Linked DNA regions of Homo sapiens: regions 2, 3 and 4 are each linked to region 1. Evidence: promoter capture Hi-C in 16 types of primary human blood cells and fetal thymus (Javierre and others, 2016). All regions are on one chromosome and are shown on one strand. Each heading gives the region's core, a stretch centred on a gene start or on the middle of the fragment in contact. The rest is flanking DNA. Distances are from core to core; before and after follow the strand shown. Region 1 holds the start of ITGA2 (integrin subunit alpha 2). Region 2 overlaps ARL15 (ARF like GTPase 15). Region 3 overlaps ARL15 (ARF like GTPase 15). Region 4 overlaps ARL15 (ARF like GTPase 15).

The links. Contacts are between HindIII fragments. The CHiCAGO score rates a contact against its expected background, and 5 or more counts as called.
Region 2: a fragment that was not itself captured here is called in contact with the fragment with the promoter of ITGA2 in region 1 in 2 of 17 cell types (naive CD4 T cells and activated CD4 T cells); the score reaches 5.6 in naive CD4 T cells.
Region 3: a contact is called between a fragment that was not itself captured here and the fragment with the promoter of ITGA2 in region 1, in 2 of 17 cell types (M0 macrophages and naive CD8 T cells). The highest score is 6.7, in M0 macrophages.
Region 4: a fragment that was not itself captured here is called in contact with the fragment with the promoter of ITGA2 in region 1 in 1 of 17 cell types (naive B cells); the score reaches 5.3 in naive B cells.

What each region holds. Positions count from the first base shown.
Region 1 is chr5:52,987,811-52,990,736 of GRCh38, forward strand. It overlaps ITGA2 (integrin subunit alpha 2), which reads left to right and starts at 1,542. Exons shown (of 30, transcript NM_002203.4): 1 at 1,542-1,722. The coding sequence starts at 1,659. It overlaps ITGA2-AS1 (ITGA2 antisense RNA 1), which reads right to left and starts at 2,476. Exons shown (of 4, transcript NR_186583.1): 1 at 2,280-2,476; 2 at 394-466. RefSeq lists an enhancer at 1-881 and a silencer at 1,346-1,495. The HindIII fragment of the contact is 2,612 bases long and covers 513-2,926 here.
Region 2 is chr5:54,304,271-54,307,196 of GRCh38, forward strand. All of the region lies in intron 1 of ARL15 (ARF like GTPase 15), which reads right to left. Among named protein-coding and RNA genes, the nearest start is that of ARL15, 4.8 kb to the right of the region's middle. RefSeq lists an enhancer at 402-1,065. The HindIII fragment of the contact is 5,398 bases long and covers 1-2,926 here.
Region 3 is chr5:54,210,154-54,213,079 of GRCh38, forward strand. All of the region lies in intron 1 of ARL15 (ARF like GTPase 15), which reads right to left. Among named protein-coding and RNA genes, the nearest start is that of ARL15, 99 kb to the right of the region's middle. The HindIII fragment of the contact is 5,856 bases long and covers 1-2,926 here.
Region 4 is chr5:54,188,024-54,190,949 of GRCh38, forward strand. The region is part of intron 1 of ARL15 (ARF like GTPase 15); the gene reads right to left. Among named protein-coding and RNA genes, the nearest start is that of ARL15, 120 kb to the right of the region's middle. The HindIII fragment of the contact is 533 bases long and covers 1,101-1,633 here.

The sequences.
Region 1 (2,926 bases), core at 292-2,791:
AAACAGACAGATATTCATCTCCCTGAAACCTGGCTGACTTCCTTCAAAAAGTCTGTAAGGAGCGTCAAAATCGTGTCACCGGTTAGTGAGCAGCCACCTAAGAGCTCTCAGGTGATAGCCGGAGTTTTAGTAAGCAGGTGAGTACCCCAGACAATTCAGAAAAAAATGCCTTCAGGTGTTTGTCAAGGTGAGTAAGTGCAGCCAGTAAGTGACTGATAAGAAAACAGGAAAGAGCCTGGGACTATATAATTTGGGTTCAAAGGGTATTAGTCATAAGCCATCAGCAGCAACATCTGATGCATACCAATTTAATACTTTAACAATGTGACACATCAGCCCTATCTATAGTAAAGAGAAGAGCTTGATTTTTATGAATTATTAAGTCCTTCCCACCTTGAGCCACTTTGCTTCCTAGAGGCAGTATCTCAGGCATCCCATTCAGCTCATAGTAGCATTCCATGAAGATCTGGAATGATGACAATAATGATGATTATTAGACTCATAACTCCTTAAGCTTGATTTATGAAAACAGTTCGTTCCTTCACAAAAGTAGTCACTGGAAGAATTCTGGTTTCAGCAATGTGCTGGAAATTTGTGGCCAAACTTTTGGATAAAACATAAGATTCAGACAAGAAAAATTAATATCCTATTTCTTAGGTTTTTAACTAAAAATCTCGGATATAGAATGTTCTCTTTCCAGATGTGAGACTGAAATAATGGAAGAAAATGGTCACAGTCTATGTCATGGTGTAATGTAGACAGGGAGAGTCACAAGTGCATGTATGGGCTCTCAGCCTTTTCTCTGGCCTTGAAGTTAATCTCCTAAACTCAGTCATTAAATCAGCTCTTAATTATCTCGGAGGAGAGGAAGTAATGATGATTTCTCTCTCTCTGTCTCTCTGTCACACACACACACACACACACAGCTCTTGCAGCAGGTATTGCTTAAATATCACCTTGGATAATCATAACTTGTGAGCAGATCTTCTTTCCTGATGAGTTAGTTTCTAACCTGGTCATTCTGCGCTTATTTTTGTCCCTTTCTCCACCCACTTAGGAAAAACAGAGAAAGGGACGCACCGCGCAGCCCCTAGGCACTGTGGTTTAGGGCTAGTGCCCTCGGCACCCGCTGCCAGGAGCCGGGCGCTGCCAAGGGCTGCGGAGGGGCCACGTTCTCCCGGGGACTGGGGCATCTCCTGCGTGCTGGCGACAGGCTGCGGGGGCGGAGTGGTGCCAGGGCGGGCGCTCGCCCGTCGGATATGCCCACCCGTCCCGTCCAGGGCAGGAAAGCCTGCCAGGGCGCCATCCCCATCCCCACCGCCTCCAGGCTGCCGGGGCTGGGCCGCTGTACGGGAGCCAAGGTGCGGTGCCCCGCGTGTGGACGAGCCGAGGTGCAGCCCGCGGGGCCGCAGGGCCGGGGTGGGGCGGGGCGCGGCCGGAGCAGATCCGGTGTTTGCGGAATCAGGAGGGGCGGGCTGGGGCGGGCCCTCGGCGCTGCAGGAGCTGCCCAGAAACTTTTCCCTGCTCTCACCGGGCGGGGGAGAGAAGCCCTCTGGACAGCTTCTAGAGTGTGCAGGTTCTCGTATCCCTCGGCCAAGGGTATCCTCTGCAAACCTCTGCAAACCCAGCGCAACTACGGTCCCCCGGTCAGACCCAGGATGGGGCCAGAACGGACAGGGGCCGCGCCGCTGCCGCTGCTGCTGGTGTTAGCGCTCAGTCAAGGTAAGCGGGGATTTCGCTCTGCATCGGCTGCAGGAGGGACCCGCGCGGCTTCCTGGGGCTCGCTGGAGGGATTGGGCGGAACTAGGGAGCGAGCTCCGTGTGTTCCCTCGGATTCCACGTGGACTCGGGCTCCCAGCCACCAGGACCTGCTTGGAAAGAGATACTTCTTCGTTCCCTTCCTGCTATCCCAGGCCTTGCGTCCCCATTAGGCGCGTCTCGCCCTGTCTGTTAAGCACCCTCCAAAGTCATCTCAGTGAGTGCTTTGTTTTAGGTACACACACGCACACACACACACACACACACAGACAGACACGCACGCACTCAAGCATGGACAGTGTGGGGATCCGCGGGTGTCCTGGAGACCGCGAGTCCTGCAGCCCAACTTCCCCTGGCTCAGACAGGTGCCGCGCCTGCCAGAGACCAGGGAAATCCGGAATCCATTGCTGATGGCGGCCTGCAGCTCCCCAGCGCGGTGCTTGCTGGCTTTGCAGAAGCCTGCGAGCCCCAAAATGCTTATTTTTCAACCCAAGGATGTGAATAATGCCTCTATTTCTTACTTGAGGACGAAGCGCTGTGTTTCTTCCCGGGGGGACTTGGAATAAACCAAGCGCCACTTAAATACTTGGCAGAGGGGAATTCTTCCTTCCCTTCTGCCTTCCTCTTATTGTTGTAACATTGTCTATTCGACGAATGTAAACTTAGGCTAGGAAAAGTTCTTTTCACTTCTGGATCCTAGATGCCGCAATGAGAGAATAAGCCGGAGCAGCCGCTCTAACTGTAGTGCTGTGGCAGTGGGGCCCGCCCACCTCCTGAGTTCTTTTACACTAAGAGGAGGAAATAAGGCTGGGGTGGAGAGCTTTTGTGGGACCATCGCCTGAGTACTTTTTCCCTGACCATTAGGCAGAGCTAGAGTGTGGTCAAATTTAAGAATTTTAGTTTATTTGGAGGGAGAAGGAGACACGTTTGTATAATGTAGTTTGAACAGCGATCAAAACAAAACAAAAAAGTTGTCTCTGATTTTAAAGTGTGTGTGTGGTTTTTTTTTTTTTTTTTTACAAAGAAGATAAATATTTCCTAAGCTGTCCTCCTTTGAGACTGACATTCAGCCACTTGCTATTCTTTATTGTGGAGGAATGAATCCTAGTCCACGTCAACCTGGTGGCATTTTCTCCAGGTCAGAGATAAGAGAGAAATAGCACCACTG
Region 2 (2,926 bases), core at 225-2,724, 1.3 Mb after region 1:
TGAACTTGAGGAAATTACACAACCTCCCTGAGCCTCAGTTTAATGCTATTACACATGCAAAGCACTTAGAACACTGGCACAGAGTAAGTGTTCAATAAATGTTAACTGATTTTGCCCTCCTGATTATAACTCATATACTTATCTCCTCTCACCCCCGACCTGAGCACTGCCCACATGCCAACAAGCATGTGGCTTTGGCATCTTTCAGAATGCAAGCCCCTGGAGGGCATGAATCAAGGTCCCTATGTGTCCTCTCCTAGGGCTCATACTGTTAGACTGGAGCCACAGAAGTTTGGGAACCAGACTTAACACCTTTGTAGAAAAGTTCCTACCTAATGGTACGGATTTGCTCAAAACATTTTTGCTATATGAACTCCATATATGGTAGATCTGTTTATTGTGCTCAGATAATTTTTATCTTATAAATTATTAAGAAAGGAATATTTAATATGACTGCCTAATCCACTCGACATTTAGACTAAAAAGTGACCTACATTATCACTTTAAAGTTAGTCACAATAAATACAACTTACAATGTTCATAGATATTCAGGGTTAAAAACAACGAAACAATGTACTTTTTTTTTTATCAATAAAGAAGTTCAGTTCACAGATAACTGAACATAATATGAAATCACAAATGTACCTTCACTCCTCTTTTCAAGTAGGATCCTTTACAATTTCATAGTGCCTGTGGGCTCTACCCTTTGTAGCACATCATGGGTTTCTATTGTTGGTTAGTTAGCTGGTTTTTATCCTGCAAATGGTGACAGATTTGTGATGATCAACCCAATTCTCTCACCACATCTTCCCCACTGAGACATACATTTTTATGATGGCAGATACAGCCTATAACCAAGAAACTAAATAGGTCAAGTCCACCAGTCTATACAAAGAAATCTTATTAAACTAACCTATCAAATCTAATCTTATTAAATCCCAAACACTGGCAGGGCACGGTGGCTCACTCCTGTAATCCCAGCACTTTGGGAGGTCGAGGCAGGTGGATCACCTGAGGTCAGGAGTTTGAGACCAGCCTGGCCAACATGGTGAAACCCCGTCTCTACTAAACATACAAAAATTAGCTGGGCATGGTGGTGGGCACCTGTAATCCCAGCTACTTAGGAGGCTGAGACAGGAGAATCACCCCATTGCACTCCAGCCTGCATGACAAGAGCAAAACTCTGTCACAAAAAAAAAATAAATAAATAAAAAATCCCCAACACGGTACAGTAGTTTCCCCTCATCCATGGGGGATATATTCCAAGTCCCAGTGGATACCTAAAACCACAGATAGTACTGAGCTATCATAGAACTAACTAACATAGCACAGAGCACACTATATTTTTTCCTATACACACACACCTATGATAAAGTTTAATGTGTAAATTAGGCATAGTAAGTGATTAATAATAACTAATAATAAAAGTGAACAATGATAACAATATACAGTAATAAAAGTTATATGAATGTGGTCTCTCTCTCTCTTAAAATATCTTATTGTACTTTACTCACTTATTTTGAGACCTCGGTGGACCATGGTTAACTGAAACCTTGAAAAGTAAAACCGTGGATGGGAGGGTGGAGGCTACTATAAACAAATGCAATGAATATTAATTGACAATTAGCATCCAAGACTAATCAACCATTTTTACTTGTCACATTTTCAAGTCTAAGTTTATATTTTAGTTCACAATAAAACACACAAAATGAGAGAAATGTACTAGAAAGCAAAGAAGCACATCAGAAGCTACCCCCTCCCCTATGTGCCTTACTTAACCTGTCCTGCCACAGGTTCCTCTAGAGCCACACGACTGCCAGTCCTGCAGTCAAGGAGGATATTACAGCTGAGGGTTCATCCCGCATGACTTTCAGGGCCATGCAGAAAGTAAGGGCTCCATAAATATTTGTTGAATAGATAAATTATTCAAATGGGTTTTATTTTCGTAGCTTTTAAAAGATTCTTAAAAGAGTCTTGTGACTTCCTGCTTGTTGATTACAACTCCCAGTATTTCCATAAATTGAGACTAGTTTAAAAGGTATTTCAATACCACTAAGCAGTAACAGTCATTCTACAGGAGGTATAAAAGTAACATCAGCAACATAATCACAATACGTTAACTTTTTTTTTTTTTTTTTGTCTTGAGACGGAGTCTCACTCTGTCGCCCAGGCTGGAGTGCAGTTGTGCGATCTCACTGCAACCTCTGCCTCCTGGGTTCAAGCGATTCTCCTGCCTCAGCCTCCCAAGTAGCTGAGATTACAGGCATGCGCCACGACACCCAGCTAATTTTTCTATTTTAAGTGGAGATGGGGTTTCTCCATGTCAGCCAGGCTGGTCTCAAACTCCTGACCTCAAGTGATCCGCCTGTCTTGCCCTCCCAAAGTCCTGGGATTACGGGCGTGAGCCACCTCGCCCAGCCACACAATACGTTAACATTTTATATTTGAAAAGCAACGTACTGTTTACAAATGGCTTTCCCTCCACTATCTCATTTAATCATCATAGGTATTACACAGAGTACAACCAATTCTACCACTGTTGTTTTGATGGCGCAGAGGGAAAAAAGGTTAATTCCAGATCAATCATCACATGAGTCAAGACAGAAAATTTTGAACTGAAAGGAATCTAGAAGTTGATCTTGTCCAACCTCCCAGGAAAACTCGAGAAATGTGTTTTTCTCTTTCATTTTAACCTGACTATTTTCTCCTACCTTATCCAAAAAGCTCTGCACATTGTGTTACTAGTTCTACCTATGAGAAGAAAGAGTAAGATGCTGGTACTGCCTGTTGGGACAGCAGCTAAATGTTTACCCAGAGACTTGGCAGATGTAAACATGGCCTTTAAACCCCATCATGGAAAGGGGAAAAGTTGTGTGCCCTTCTAGGAAGATTCACTCATCAACTGGAAAACAGAGATTTTTATGTT
Region 3 (2,926 bases), core at 108-2,607, 1.2 Mb after region 1:
TTTTCTTTGTTATTAAGTATTCTTCTAAAAAGCAAGACATTTTTAAACGTACCCACTTCAAAATATATTGTAAGATTCTGTGACACAGGCATCATTACCATAAAATCCTCCCAATCAAATTATAATTTTCTTTTTCATGAACTATATTTCTTAAGCAAGGCAAGAACATTTTATTAAAAATAATGCCTATTATCTATTTTATTTTACTATAATCCACTCACTTTCCAGCCAATTTGCTCCGAATATTCTCTTGGAAACTTGTACTTCAAGACAATGGCTTCACTCATTACGTTATTTCAACAAAATGATAAATGTATTGTGAAATATATTATATTTGATTATCAAGCTAAAGCATTGCAAATGGCCATCACAGAACCCAAATTCACCCATAACATTCTATCCCCCAGAATAGTCCTCTGACAACAAATGATAACTGTACATGACAAATCCTTTGAGGCATCTGGGCCTTAAAAATTAAAGGGCCATTCTGACTAAAGTATGTTGATTTTCCAAAGGAAGTTTTGTTGCAGTTGTTGCTGCTGTTGCTATTATTTGAATTGACTAATCCTCAAGTAGGTTCTAGCCACCCTGAAGAATATTTACAAATACAAATATATTAGAATTGAAAGAGACCTTATATGCCACATAGTTCAATCTCTTTTCCTTGAGATGCAAAACTGTGGCACAGAGAAGTTAATTCAGTTGACAAACAACTCATGGTTAATTCAGTCTCATAGAACCCAATCTAGTGCTTTTTCTGCAATAACACATTACAGAGTCTGCAAAACCAGCACAATTACTACCTGACACTGTCAGCAAACAAAATGAAAATACACATATTTTAATAAGTAGTTTTTGCTTATTTTTGCAGTCACACATAAGATGTTATATCTTTACACAAAACGAAACTAGGATTATTTTTATTGTTCAAAAGACAGACTGTCCAATTATAGCTATTACTGAACTAGAAATGTATTTTCAGTTTATCTTCCCAAATCAAGTTAGTGGTTTGTTTGGTATGCACAAAGTATTCCAAAATGTCACAGAGTGGGGGCTATTGCAGGGTTTTCTCCTGCTTCCACCAGACCACAAAGGGCAACAAGTTTGGAGGGGACAGGAAGGTTGGGAGCAGAATACAAGGAGCTGTAGAGCTGTTCTATCGGTTCAGGTTTTAAGATCCATGAATAGACCCTACTCACCGAGTGAAAGCCCTGACAATTTTATCTGAGCATTAGAAAATAATTCCTTGGGCAGTTAAAAGATTGGAATATCAAAGAGCTGACATTAGTTTTAGGCAGCGCTTAAATGAAACACTTTTTTTTTTTTTTTTTTTTGAGACAGAGTTTCACTTTTGTCACCCAGGCTGGAGTGCAGTGGTGCAATCTCAGCTCACGGCAACCTCTGCCTCCCAGGTTCAAGCGATTCTCCTGCCTCAGCCTCGCGAGTAGCTGGGAATACAGGTGCCCGCCACCATACCTGGCTAATTTTTTGTATTTTTAGTAGAGACAGGGTTTTGCCATGTTGGGCAGGCTGGTCTTGAACTCCTGACCTCAGGTGATCCGACCGCCTCAGTCTCCCAAAGTGCTGGGATTACAGGCACGAGCCACCGTGACCGGCCAAATGAAATACTTTTATACTCTTATCTTACTTTTAAAAAGAATATGATAATCAGAGAGTTCAGGAAGGAAATAAAGAGGAGTAGATAAAGTCCAAAATGAGGAATATGCTTATCTGGAGCACACCTACTTAACCAGAAAAGAGTAATTTGAGTAGGAAGAAATGCCAAGTCACTAATTTGTTTAAGGATCTTGGTTATTGGTTGATTCCATTAGGAATGTGTCTGGCTACAAGTAACAGAAAATTCATGTTAGGTGCTTTAAACGGCATCACCAAACCTAAAGGGCCAGAGAGTAAATATTTAAGACCTGCAGGCCATATAGTCTCCGTCACAATTACTCAACTCTGTCATAGCATGAAGGCAGCCACAGTCAATACGTGGCTGTGTTTCAGTAACACTTTACTTACAAAAATAGGCAATCAGCCAATGGGTCATAATTTGCCAACCAATGGTTTAACCAAAATGTCAATCCCTGGTTTAAACAAATGAGACTTAATTAAAAAGAAGCTGGCCTTTTTTGTAAGGTAGTAAGAAGGGCACATCAGCTCCAGATGTCACATTTCTGTTTAAGAAGAGGAAAAGGGAAAAGGAAGGTAGAAAAGGGAAAAGGCCACATCTGTCCCTTTTCACAGGAAAGCAAAAACTTTCCCCACAGAACCTCAAGCAGACCCCCTCCCCCATAAGATCACTAGTCAGAACCGAGCAACACAGCCACATCTAGTTGTAAGAGAAGCTGAGAAAACAGGGAACACAGGAGTCTAAGTGGCTTAGACCAATCATGGTTCATTCATTGCCTGGGGCTAGACACATTGCTGCCTCAGACCAGGGTATTTTAGCAAGAAGGATAAATGGCTATTGGGTGTACAATGAACAGTGTTTGTCCTGTTGGACTATTTTTTCTGTTTTCTCTATTGGCATAATCTGCTCAAAGAAAATATGCTTTCTTAGCTGTGAACTAATTAGTCAAATGGAGATTGAGAAAGATTAAGCATGTTTGGTGGTAGGGGTGGGGAACAAATAAGAGTGAATCTACTGTTAGCTACCTAAAAGTAGTGATTTAATGGGGGGGAGATGCAGAGTGAGAAATCTGAATAGCAGTCCTGCCAGCCCAGTTTTATGACCTTAGCCAAAACACTTAACCTACCCATGCCTCTGTTTCTCCAACTGGAAAAATAAAGTTGTTAAATTAGATGTCTCTAAGGTCCCTTGACACACTAACATCCTGTATCTCCTTTAAATATGTTGTCTGATCAAGCAAACATAGCATAATGTATCCAGTTAAAATTTCCTCCTAAAAATAGTAATGCC
Region 4 (2,926 bases), core at 117-2,616, 1.2 Mb after region 1:
ACATGTTTGTCTAAGTAAGGTACAATCCCTCAAGTCTCCCTTTTCCAATTTGCATATCACACCATAATTGTGAAGCAACTGTTACAACAAGAATAAAAAAAACTACTCATCTGGAACATGCAACAAAAAATGGAGCAATCATATTTATGGTTAGCAATAAATAAATAAAGGTCCTTGGCTAACAAACTCAGCTTTCCCAAAAGGAAAAAAACCTGAAGGCTCACAGTAAACTATCATGTTAAGAAAAAGCAGTGGGGGAATGGGAGTGGGAGGGAAAGGATTAGGTAAAGGCATGTATTTTATAGAAAAGGACATTAGGCCTCATTTGCTTGGTGAATCTGTGGAAATAATTTATGATATTCTATACAAGGAATTATGACTCCATCCTGAACAGACTGCTTATCTCCCCATGGCTCTTCACAAGCAAGAAAGGGCATGCTCATGACTCTTTGACTTTAGTGTTAACATTGATTTTATAATTACAATAATATTGGATACCAAGGTCCTCAAGGGAATTAGACATGGACAGTATTTGCCAGAGATAAAATATTCATCACCAACAGAGTATATAAAATGTATCTGAGAGGATCAGGGCTCACTTGGGACCCACACAAGAGGAATAAGACATCACCAGAAAAATGCAAGAATTCTCTGATATGTAAAAATCTGAAACAAAGAATGTCAGTCTTAACAAATTCTGCACATATTAAAATAAGACCTCATTGTCACATAATCTGGGGGCATTCCAGTAGGGCAGAGAATAAAAAATTGACCTGAAATTTTCTTAGAGGGCTTCCAAAGCAAATACATAACAAGGCCCACAGCTCTCTTTTTAATCCTATTAATTTTAAATTTCTTACAAATCACAAACTTCTCTTTGCCTAAGGTTTACGTCTCAAGCTAACCATTTTTTTTGTGCAATCTTTAGGGTTTTCTACATACAGGTTCATGTCACTGGCAAAGTCAATGTGCAAAAATCAGTTGCATGTCTGTACACTAATAATTAACAACCTGAAAAGGAAATTATGAAAATAATTCCATTTATAATAGCACGTAAAAGAATAAGACACTTAAGAACTAACTTAACCAAGGAGGTGAAAAGCTTGTACAATAAAAGCCACAAAACATTGCTGAAAGAAATTAAAGAAGATACAAATAAATGGAAACACATCCCATGTTCATGGACAAAAGACAATAATGTTAATCTGTCAACACTACCCAAATGGATTCAATGCAATCCTATCAAAATCTAAATAATTTTTTTATGGAAATAAAAAAGCCCATCCTAAAATTCATATAGAATCACAAATGACAAAACAATCTTGAAAACAAAGAACAAAGCTGGAGCTCCAGACTTACACATACAGATTTCAAAACAAACGTCCGGTAATCAAAAGAACATGTTATTAGCATAAACACAGACATATAGACCAATGAAATAGAATAGAGATCCCCAAAATAAACCTTTGCATATGTGGTCAAATGATTTTGGGCAAGGGTGAAAAGATCATTCAGTGGGAAAGAACAGTCTTTTCAACAGATGGTGCTAGGAAAACTGGATATGCACACACAAAAGAATAAAGTTGTACCCTTACCTAATGCCATATACAAAAGTTAACTCCAAATGAATAAAAGCTTTAAATGTAAGACCTAAAAGTATAAAAAACATAGAAACATAGAAAGTTTTTTCTTAGAAAAAAACACAGGGCAAATGCTTCATGACATTGAATTTGGCAATAATTTGTTGGACATGATACCACAGACACAGATGAAAAAAGAAACAATAGGCAAATTGAACTTTATCAAAACTAAAACATTTGGTACAACAAAAGAAAATGTCAATAGTGTAAAAAGTTAGTCCATAGAATGGGAAAAAATATTTTTAAATCATATCTCTAATAAGAGATCAATGTCTGGAATATGTAGACAACTCCTAAAACTGAACAATAAAAAAACTGTTCAAAAATGGACAAAGAATTTGAAAAGACATTCCTCCAAAGAAGATATACAAAAGGCTAATTAAGTACATGAAAAGATGCTCAATATCACTAATCATCAGGAAAATACAAATCAAAACTACAGTGAGGGCTAGGTGTGGTGGCTCACGCCTGTAATTCCAGCACTTTGGGAGTCAAGGCAGGTGGATCACTTGAGGTCAGGAGTTCGAGACCAGCCTGGCCAACACGGTGAAACCCCGTTTCTACTAAAGATACAAAAAAATTAGCCAGGTGTGGTGGTATACACCTGTAATCTCAGCTACTCAGGAGGCTGAGGCAGAAGAATTGCTTGAACCCAGGAGGTGGAGGTTGCAGTGAGCCAAGATCACCCCACTGCACTCCAGCCTAGGTGATAGAATGAGACGTTGTCTCAAAAAAAAAAAAAAAATTACAGTGAGATATCATTAGGATGGCCACTGTCTTAGACTGTTCCTGTTGCTCCAACAAAATACGTAATTTACAAAGAACAGAAGTTCATTTTCTCACAGTTCTGGAGGCTGGAAAGTCCAGGATCAAAGCACTGGCATTTTGTGTCTGGTGAGGGCCTTCTGCTACATCTTCACATGGCAGAAGACAGAAGGATGAAAAGGGCCTAGCTAGTTTCCTGGAAGCATTGGATAAAGGTATTAATCCCATTCATAAGGCCATAGCCCCCAGACTTAATAACCTCCTGAAGGCCTCACCTTTTAATACCATCACATTGGGTCTTAGGTTCCATCATATGAATTTTGGGGAGGACATGCACATTCAAACCATAACAGCTACTATCAGAATAATGGAAAATAACAAGTGTTGGCAAGGATATGGAGAAATTAGAACCCTTGTACACTGTTGGGAAGAATGTAAAATGATATAGCCACTGTGAAAAACAATATGGCAGTACCTCAAAAAATTAAAAATAGAATTATCATCTGATCCAATAATGCCAT